2 separate regions of the Homo sapiens genome follow, and region 1 is linked to region 2. Evidence: promoter capture Hi-C in 16 types of primary human blood cells and fetal thymus (Javierre and others, 2016). All regions are on one chromosome and are shown on one strand. Each heading gives the region's core, a stretch centred on a gene start or on the middle of the fragment in contact. The rest is flanking DNA. Distances are from core to core; before and after follow the strand shown.

Region 1 (4,597 bases), core at 1,401-3,900, 400 kb before region 2:
CACACCACACTGGTTCACTTTTCTGAAAGCCTCCTTGCCTCTCTTCAACCCCTCCTCACAGTGCAGTGTTTTGCACTGTTTGTGTTTTAAATATTTGTTTATGAGATGGACAAGAAAGTTGGAAGATGCTGCATTACAGTCAATGTAATTCACTAAATAAGGGCCACCTTATGTTTTTAAGTTGCTTGCATGGCGCTGATGCAATCTGCTTTGAGAAAATGTTATGCTTCATTGAGCTTTTTTTAATGTAATATGGAAAGGTTTTGTTTCTCCTATATGAAAAAAAAAACTACCCAATGCTGCTGAATTTGGCATTAAAAGTCATTGGTGGCGTTCTTTCATTCAAAAAAACTTCAAAAACAAAGCCATAGCGAAGGGTTTAATAGTATTGATAAAGTAAAGAACAAGTACCTTTTAAACACTGTCTCAAGGTAAAGGAAGGCACTTTGTGTTAGTTTTTTTCTGCTATTAAATTATATCAACAGCTACCACTAGAGGGCGCTTGGCCTCTTTTTATTTTTAGTAAACCAACTGCTGCTTTGAAATGGCACCTACTGCCTTCACATATTACTGTATCCATAAGCTGGTATTTCCATTCTTCACTGTATGTGCGAGTTACTTTATTCTTAAATGTTATATTACTCCTCACATATTTCATCTCTATAAGCCAATGATTTCGTTCATGTTTATTGAATACTAGAAAATTATAACTTTCCTCGATGGTGGTTAATTTGAAATGTATTCTTCTCCCCACTGACATACTAAGAAAAAAAAAGTTTCAATGTCAAAACGTAATAAGTTTCTACATTCAAAAAATAGATGAGAATTATTGTATATTCCTAAAAAATTAAGAGAAAAAACATTTAGCAACTATCTTTAACTTAATTACTGATGAGGTACCCAAATTTTGTCAGTGTATGGCACAGTTAGTGTCTCAGTAACTTTTTTCGCATGCTCCAAAAAAAAAAAAGTTCTGTTTATTACATAGTTAGGTTTATGCAACTTAAGAAGTATTTACATTCTAACAACTTACTCGCTGTTTGAAAAAATTACACACATAAACAAATGGGAAAAAAAATTTTTTTTTTTGAGACAGGGTCTCACTGTGTCACCCAGGCTGGACCTAGGCTCCAGTGACCCAAGCTCACTGCAGCCTCGACCTACTGGGCTCAAGTGACCCTCCCACTTCAGCCTCCCAAGTAGCTGGGACTACAGGTGCACACCACCACTCCCTGCTAATTTTTTTTTTTTTTAATTGTAGAGACAATGTCTCATTATGTTGCCCAAGTTGGTCTCAAACTCCTGGGCTCAAGCCGTCCTCCCATCTTGGCCTCCTAAAGTGATGGGATTACAGGCATGAGCCACTGTTCCTGGCCTATTTCATTATCTCACACTGACTATATTAGTTACCCATTGCTTCATAACAAATTACCCCCAACATTTAGTGGCTTAAACAACAAGTCGTTATTATCTCATAGTTTCTGTGGGTCAGGGATGCCAGAGGAGCTTATCTGGATGGCTGTCGCTCAGGATCCCTAATGAGGTTGCCTTCATGATGGTGGCCGGGGATGCAGTCACCAGAAAGGTTACCTGAGGCTGGAGGACCCACTTCTAAGATGGTTCATTCCCATGGCTATTGGCCAGTGGCATCAGCTCCCTGCTGGCTTTTTGCAAAAGAGCTCATTTCCTCTCCACATGGCACACCCACAGGGCTGCTTGAGCATCTTCACATGCTCAAGCCGTGAAGCAGCTGGCTTCCCCAAAACTGAGTGATCAACAGGAAAAAGCAAAGAGGAAGATGAAACGCCTTGTATGATCTAGACTTCTGAGTCTCACACTTGCCCTTCTGCCACATTCTAGTTTTCAAAAGCTAGTTACTAAGTCCAGCCCATATTCAAAGGGAAAGGAATTAGGATTCATCCATTAAAGGGAAGATTGTTAAAGAATTTTGGATACATTTTAACACCATCACAGTTACCAGTGAGGTACATGCACCTATTGGGCACTAGACACCCAACCTTTAGAACCAAATTCACCACCACCACCCTTATTTCCCGTTCCATGTTAATTGTCATATAGTATCTATTTTTTATCACAGCAACTTCTGAAAACCCAGCTTCCAAAGATATGTCTTTTAGAAAAGCATTACAGCACAATCTAAGGTTTAAATTATAAGGTATTTTGAGCCAGTAGTTCATGCAGCAGCCAACAAATGTTTCTGTGTTTTTCTTGAGAATTTTCAATATGTCGTGTGGCCCCTGTGAGGTCACTGCAACTTCTTGGGGTGCCTCAGTGCACAATTTGGGAATCATAAGCTTAATTATCTTTTTCTCAGAGATAAAAATGTAGAGTATGTTTAAAGAAGTCTTTCTAAATACATCAATAATTTCTCTATTATTCATACTCTGGGGATATTATAAAGGAGGCTATTTCTATTCATAGTATGGAAACAAAATGAAAATTTTATTACTTTATAAGTATTTATTTAATATAAAAATATTCTAAGGGCTGGACCTCTTTCCTTTGCCCATTTTAATTGAACAATGGATGGACTATGAAGAAAAAGTAATCCAAGAATAAAAAAATACAAATCAAAGGTTCAGTTTGAAAAAAAATTATCATCCAAGAAATAATCATTTCCTTTTTATATTAAAAAATGTTCTCTTTATTCTCATTTCCCAATATAATAATATTTTAGTGTTAGCCTGGAGTCTGTGCCAAATGATTACACAGTATGTCTACTTCCTGACCCATAGGGAGTTAATCTTCGATAAAAAACAAGCTCAGGTAATGAAAGATCTTCCTGTTAATTGCAAGTGATAGGAAACACACACACACATTTCTCTTACTCCTTCCTGAAACCCCACTAAAATAACAAAAATGATGTGAAAGGGCATAATTCCACAAAAATGAGGAGAACAGAAAAGGTGATTATAGAAGATGATTACTGTACACCAAAAAAAGATGATTATTGTACACAAAATGAAAAGCTTATAACCTTTGGTAAATGGCTTTGGACTCATATATCTCTGCTCTGCTGAGTACCTGAAAAAGAAAAAAACAACTAGAAGAAAGTTGATTCATGAACTCAGAAAACTTCTATCAATAGAGGAACCAGGGGCCTCTGAAGGTGTTAAGTTTGCAAGTAGGGCTGAAAACAGAAGAATTTGTTAAAAGTCTGAAAAAGGAGGTAACAGACTCTTCAGTCTCCTCCCACCGTCCATGCAGGCAGGTGACTACATGTCACAAAAGATGGTAGGTTTCTTATTAATAACATAGACGTTCATTGGATAACATAGATGTTCAATCAGTCTATTTTCAGAAGAGTGAGATTTCTAGTTCCCTTCTGGTAGTAGGCCCTCAGAACAATGACTGTTAGACTTATACTCCATCATAGGAGATAATGAAAATGTCCTTTAGGGAAACTGTCTAGCCCTATGAATACCGACAGCCAAGAATCCCCCAAGACAGCCAGCTCCTGCCTGAGCTCTCTACAGTAAAACCTGACACACTTGATAAGCTTCACAGGAACATGGGACTTCTTTTTTTTTTTTTTTTTTTTTTTTTTTTGATGGAGTCTCACTCTGTCTCCCAGGCTGGTGTGCAGTGGCGCAATCTCAGCTCACTGCAAGCTCCGCCTCCCGGGTTCACGCCATTCTCCTGCCTCAGCCTCCCCAGTAGCTGAGACTACAGGTGCCCGCCACCAAGCCCAGCTAATTTTTTGTATTTTTAGTAGAGACAGGGTTTCACCATGTTAGCCAGGATGGTCTCGATCTCCTGACCTCGTGATCCGCCCACCTCGGCCTCCCAAAGTGCTGGGATTACAGGAGTGAGCCACCGCGCCCTGCCTGAATATGGAACTTCTAATCAGGATTTACTGCCACTCTTTATAAAAAATAATTTATTTTAAAATAACTTACATAAAAACTTTCAGATCAGAACAAAGAATTCTTGTATCCCTTTCATTCAGATTGTCCAAACATTAACATTTTTCTGAATATGCATGGACACCAACCCCGTCTCTCTGTGTATATGTAGGGAGAGGAAGTGATCCATTATCATTAGTCATACTCTGAACTTTTTAAGAGAAAGCTTCAGACACGATGTCCCATTATCCCTAAATAATCCAGTGTGTATTTCCCCAAAACAAGAAAACTCTCCCATTCAAATTTTGCCAACTGTCCAAAACTCTCTCTTTTTCCTTTCTGGTTCAGGATTGTTCCAAGGAATATATGTTGCATGTAGTTCTTATGTCTCATCATATTCATTCAGCTTAAAACAATAATTCTGCCTTTGATGTCCTTAACCATTTTTAAAGAGTAAAAGCGGCCTGGTGCAGTGGCTCATGCCTGTAATCCCAGAACTTTGGGAGGCTAAGGCGGGCGGATCACGAGCTCAAGTGATCGAGACCATCCTGGCCAACACGGTGAAACCCCATCTCTACTAAAAATACAAAAAAACTAGCTGGGTGTGGTGGGGCGTGCCTGTAGTCCCAGCTACTCAGGAGGCTGAGGCATGAGAATCCCTTGAGCCGATGAGGCAGAGGTTGCAGTGAGCCGAGATCGTGCCACTGCACTCCAACCTGGTGACAGAGCGA
Region 2 (4,602 bases), core at 2,103-4,602:
TCCAAAAGTCTTAACACAATTTTGTAAAGTAAATTTCTAACACCAGAGAGATTAAGTTCAATGACCATAGTATACGCTACTGTTTTAAAGCAAGGTTCACACACACACACACACACACACACACACACACAAAATGGAACTGAACAAAAGTCACTACTTAATACTTTCTAAATTGCCTCTTTTGGAGGTACGGTGAAAGAAAAACATTCTAGATGCGTCTGAAAGAAACAAGGTACACACACTTACTAAAATTCCCCTTTGCTTTAGGTGTAGTTGAGGGAAGTTCAACTAATCTTTAAACCTTTTTTGGGAGAGGGCAATACTCATCTTCATGAATTTTTGTTTACTTTGGTAAACTTAAAATTGTGAAATAATTAAATATTATTAAAATGTATTAGTAATGTGGACTCAAACTAAAAAGAACAGGGAAAGTGTATGTTAACAAACTAGATGTTTTGGAGACTTGATATAATATGGTTCATATCAATGTTACCATAGCCAGAAGTTGCTTAATAGGTTAGACTGCACCATAATCAAGGCAATTATGAAAGGATGAAGTGAAATGAAAATACTGAGATGCAAGCATTATAGCCCTCCTCCAAGTTACCTTTATTTTGTGTGAGGGCTCTAGTATTCTGGTAAATAAACTCTTCCCTGCCCCATGACCACAAAACTTTACTTGGTAAGAATAAACTGTTGGGGGTTTTATCTCTTACTAATTCTCACCACAAATTTCCTCAAATAGTTACTCCCACCAACGTAAAAGTTAAAAATACAATCATACACTGAAACGGCATCAATTATCTTTGCCTTACATCTGAACAAAAAGTATTAACTTTTTTATAGCGTATTACACTTCTTAATAAGCACTTAGTAACAACATTTGTCAGTAAATGAACTGGCATACATCAGAAAAAGTTGACAATAGAAGAATTTTACATGGTACCATTTCAAATTTTCATGTACAAGTAACCCACTTTATGGTCACTAACCTGAACCTCCTAATAAGCTACACAAATAATTTACTCTTTAAAAATTCCTACTTTAGAGCATTTACATTTTATAATTTAATAATGAAAGCAGATTCTTCCAAAACAAAACAAAACCCAAACTGGGAAACATTAAAACACAAATAGATCTAAAAGCTTACTTTAAAAAAACTACAAAAATGGACTAACAAGCCTTACCAGTGTAAACACTAAGGTAAAAAATATATAAACAACATAAAGAAAACACAAAACCATTTTCAGTCATAAATATAGTAAAATGAAAAACCAAATCTCAAGATGCCTGTCAAGATATATTTGACTATATATTTTGACTATATTTCTGAAATCACTAACATGAACTTGACATTGAAAAAATAATCCTTAAATGTATATAAAAATGGGCACTTTGTGGTAAAATGAACATGTGTTTTGAAAAACTAAGAATGTGTCTTTGCTCCACCATTGTGCATAGTCAACGACACAACAAAACACTATTCTGCTGCCTGAATCATCTATTACTGGAGTCTCAAGTGCATGCCTTTTAAAAAAGACTAATTTAGATATTAATATGAGGATCAAAGGATAAGATGATAATCTCAAAGTAAAACATAATTGATTTTTAGCTTCATTATAAGGCTGAACTTTAAAGAGAACAACCTGTGTGGTCAAAAACACTTTTCTAATTTTTAAAACTCAATTTAACGTGTCAAATTATAAAACTGAACGTGAAAAAGATTTGTCTTATCTCACTCCCCTTAATCATATAAGCTCTGAAAATTTAGTAATGGATGACTGGCAGTCTGTTTTGCCACTTTTTAAACAGTAGTACATGAGATATGCTTCAAAACATTCTCAAAAATTACTAACAACTGTAGAGAATAGCCAAGTGTGGAAAACAATATTTGTGATATTTCATGTTCTCTTGTTAGAACTCAACTCTGTACCTGATACTTATATTTGCATACACAGTAATTGCATATTTGATTAAGAAAACTAACATAGGACTAAATTATAAGTTTACCAAACATTTGGATAAACTGCTGTGCAAAATACTTCAACAAAAAGTTTTTTTTACTAGGAACTCATCCAAATAAAGTAGTGTGAGTACCAGCACCACAAAGTTTTTTTTAAGAGCACCTCTCCTTTTTAGAGCTTAAGTAGAAATATCTAAATGGAATAAATCAGAGTCCCACTTAAGACCTTAGCACATGCACACGTTCATCCACTTGTTCCGTACTCATTAGCAAAGCTATGTATATTTGTCAGAAAACTCCTTTCTTTGGATAACACTGTTGTATTCAGGACTGCAACTTATGGCTCATATTCTGGAAATATGCTACTATTGATATCAAATGCAACATATCCCCAACTTTTATGACTGTCCCTAACTCATCTAAACACAAACCCAAATGTGTGCAAACACACTGGCTGGTAACAATCTTACTGAATTACGCCAAAAAAGAGTAAAGTCAAATTTGAAAATGTGGGAACAATTAAGCACTAAGATATTAATCAGGAAATGTATTTACCCAGCTTGTAAGTTTGAATATTTTGATATTGCACACATTTAATTTAAAGCTCATCAAAACTAAGGCAATGCATCCATACTCCCTGGATTTTAAATTCATTTTGCATGACTTAAAGAATTGAGAGAAATCGAAAGCATCTTTCAAAAATTCCCTCCAAAAAGTAATGTTATACTTCAAAGAAAAACAAAATCAACAGATATCAATTAATACCCTCAGGCCAATTTAACACGTCAGCATTACAAAAAGTTGTTTTCAATTAAACTGAAGTGTTTCTTTGCTTAAATACTTTCTTGTGTTCAACAACAAAATCTGACCCAAGCCAGGGTAGGCTGCCAAATTTAAGGCAAATGTCATTTATATCTTTATGCATGAAGCTGCCACGTTACTGGGCTTTTCAGCAGATACTTTCAAGCAAGGATCTACCTCATAAGTACATTCTAAACATGAGTTAAAAACAGAATTTAGAGCCCATTTTAATTCTGCATTGGTTATAGCCTTTACTGTAATACATTATTAAAATTTATCTAGCTGTTTGGCACAATCTGTTAGATAAAAACTCTTTGGAAGCATCATAGGCAACTTACGAGAACATTCTCTTAATACATAGGTTTATTTTTTTTTAATTAGGAGTTTTGCTTTTCTTCTGTAGAACAATCCTATATTTCTCTATAGAGTCTAAAGTTTAGAAAAATACCTCACAATGCTTTCTTTGAGCACTAAGTTCAATGATGGTGATAATACAATTTGGACAGTTTAAGTATTCTTGAAACTTTACCCAAAGTGGCACACAAAATAATCTTACTTTTTTTTTTCAAAGACAGAACAATTTCACAGCACACTCAATTTGAAGATAGACATTATATTTGAATTGGAAGTGAGGCTTGACTTACTCTGTCCAAATTCTAATGCATCACAGTCACTGGTGTGAAGCTAATAATGAAAGAAGCAAGAGGAGGCTTTCATTTCTATGGAGACAAATTGACATAGAAGCCAGATTAGTCTTTTCTTCCTGAACTAAGAACTGCTTTTGTTAGAAAACAAAATAATGTATTGTATTTACCTGAATACTGCTTTAAAAAGTTATTAATTCTTCTTTTACAAGAGGTATTAGAAATTAAAACAACTCAGATTTCTAATCCAAAATATATTTATCTTTGGAAAGCAAGGTAACCGTTGTGAAAACATTGTATTAAGAGAATAAAATGCAGTGACCTGAAATATGGGTGAACATATTCACACATGATAATGTAAATAAATATACAGAACCACTCAAATACACATTTATAAAGAGAATGGCAAAGTACCTAAAATAGCATTTTCACATATAAAATTTTTATATTAAAATATTGCTCATAATAAATAAGAGGTGATATGAATTCCATTTCCCTCTTAAAAATTATCTCTAGTAGTTTACACTAAGGAGTTAATCTGTTGTTTTGACAGGTGAATTAAAATGTTTAATAAAATGACACTGTAACAGTATATTTAAGTAGTCACATGTGATAAAATTTGTTTAGTAATTCTGGGAAAAAAGAGTCCCCAAATGAGCCAAAATGATTAGCCCTAGAAGACTAGAGTATAATGATCTGCTTTATTTGACAAAGATGTTAAATACTGCCTTATGTTTGGCAAATTTAATGACCATAAAAAAACGGACCACAACTTTCTTCAAACTTCTTCAAAGTTTGCATGTCTGGGAGACCAATAAAGGGCAGGGCATACGAAGTAAGTCTGTTTAGGTCAGTTGTTTATGGGTAGGTGCGACTTCATTCCTGTTCGCCCTACTTGCAGACATGGTAACTTAGAACAGTTCTTCAGAAGCTGTTCGATGGCAACGTGGCGGACATGGAGCTGTGAGGCCAAAGAATCTTTTTCTTGCACTTGGTGAGTTAACTCTTCAAAAACTTCTGTAAAAGATTTAAAAACTTTCATTTTTAGTATGCAGAAAGCCGGTGCTATGATTTATATTTCAAGAACTCTAACTGAAATCTATGCATTGGGCAAAGTGTCACAATGAAACTGATTTGATACCAAGGAAACAGTTCTGTTCTCTACAAAGCATATCAGTTCTGATCATCCTAGGC

The links. The method cuts DNA at HindIII sites, captures the fragments that hold promoters and counts their contacts. A CHiCAGO score of 5 or more calls a contact.
Region 1: a fragment that was not itself captured here is called in contact with the fragment with the promoter of C21orf91-OT1 in region 2 in 1 of 17 cell types (M0 macrophages); the score reaches 6.4 in M0 macrophages.

What each region holds. Positions count from the first base shown.
Region 1 is chr21:17,386,725-17,391,321 of GRCh38, forward strand. No RefSeq gene overlaps it. Among named protein-coding and RNA genes, the nearest start is that of LINC01549, 50 kb to the right of the region's middle. The HindIII fragment of the contact is 675 bases long and covers 2,314-2,988 here.
Region 2 is chr21:17,789,157-17,793,758 of GRCh38, forward strand. C21orf91-OT1 (C21orf91 overlapping transcript 1) reads right to left here and starts at 3,353. Exons shown (of 4, transcript NR_038871.1): 1 at 3,321-3,353. It overlaps C21orf91 (chromosome 21 open reading frame 91), which reads right to left. Exons shown (of 5, transcript NM_001100420.2): 5 at 1-4,425. The coding sequence ends at 4,259. The region is part of intron 2 of LOC124900465 (a long non-coding RNA gene); the gene reads left to right. The HindIII fragment of the contact is 3,892 bases long and covers 1,144-4,602 here.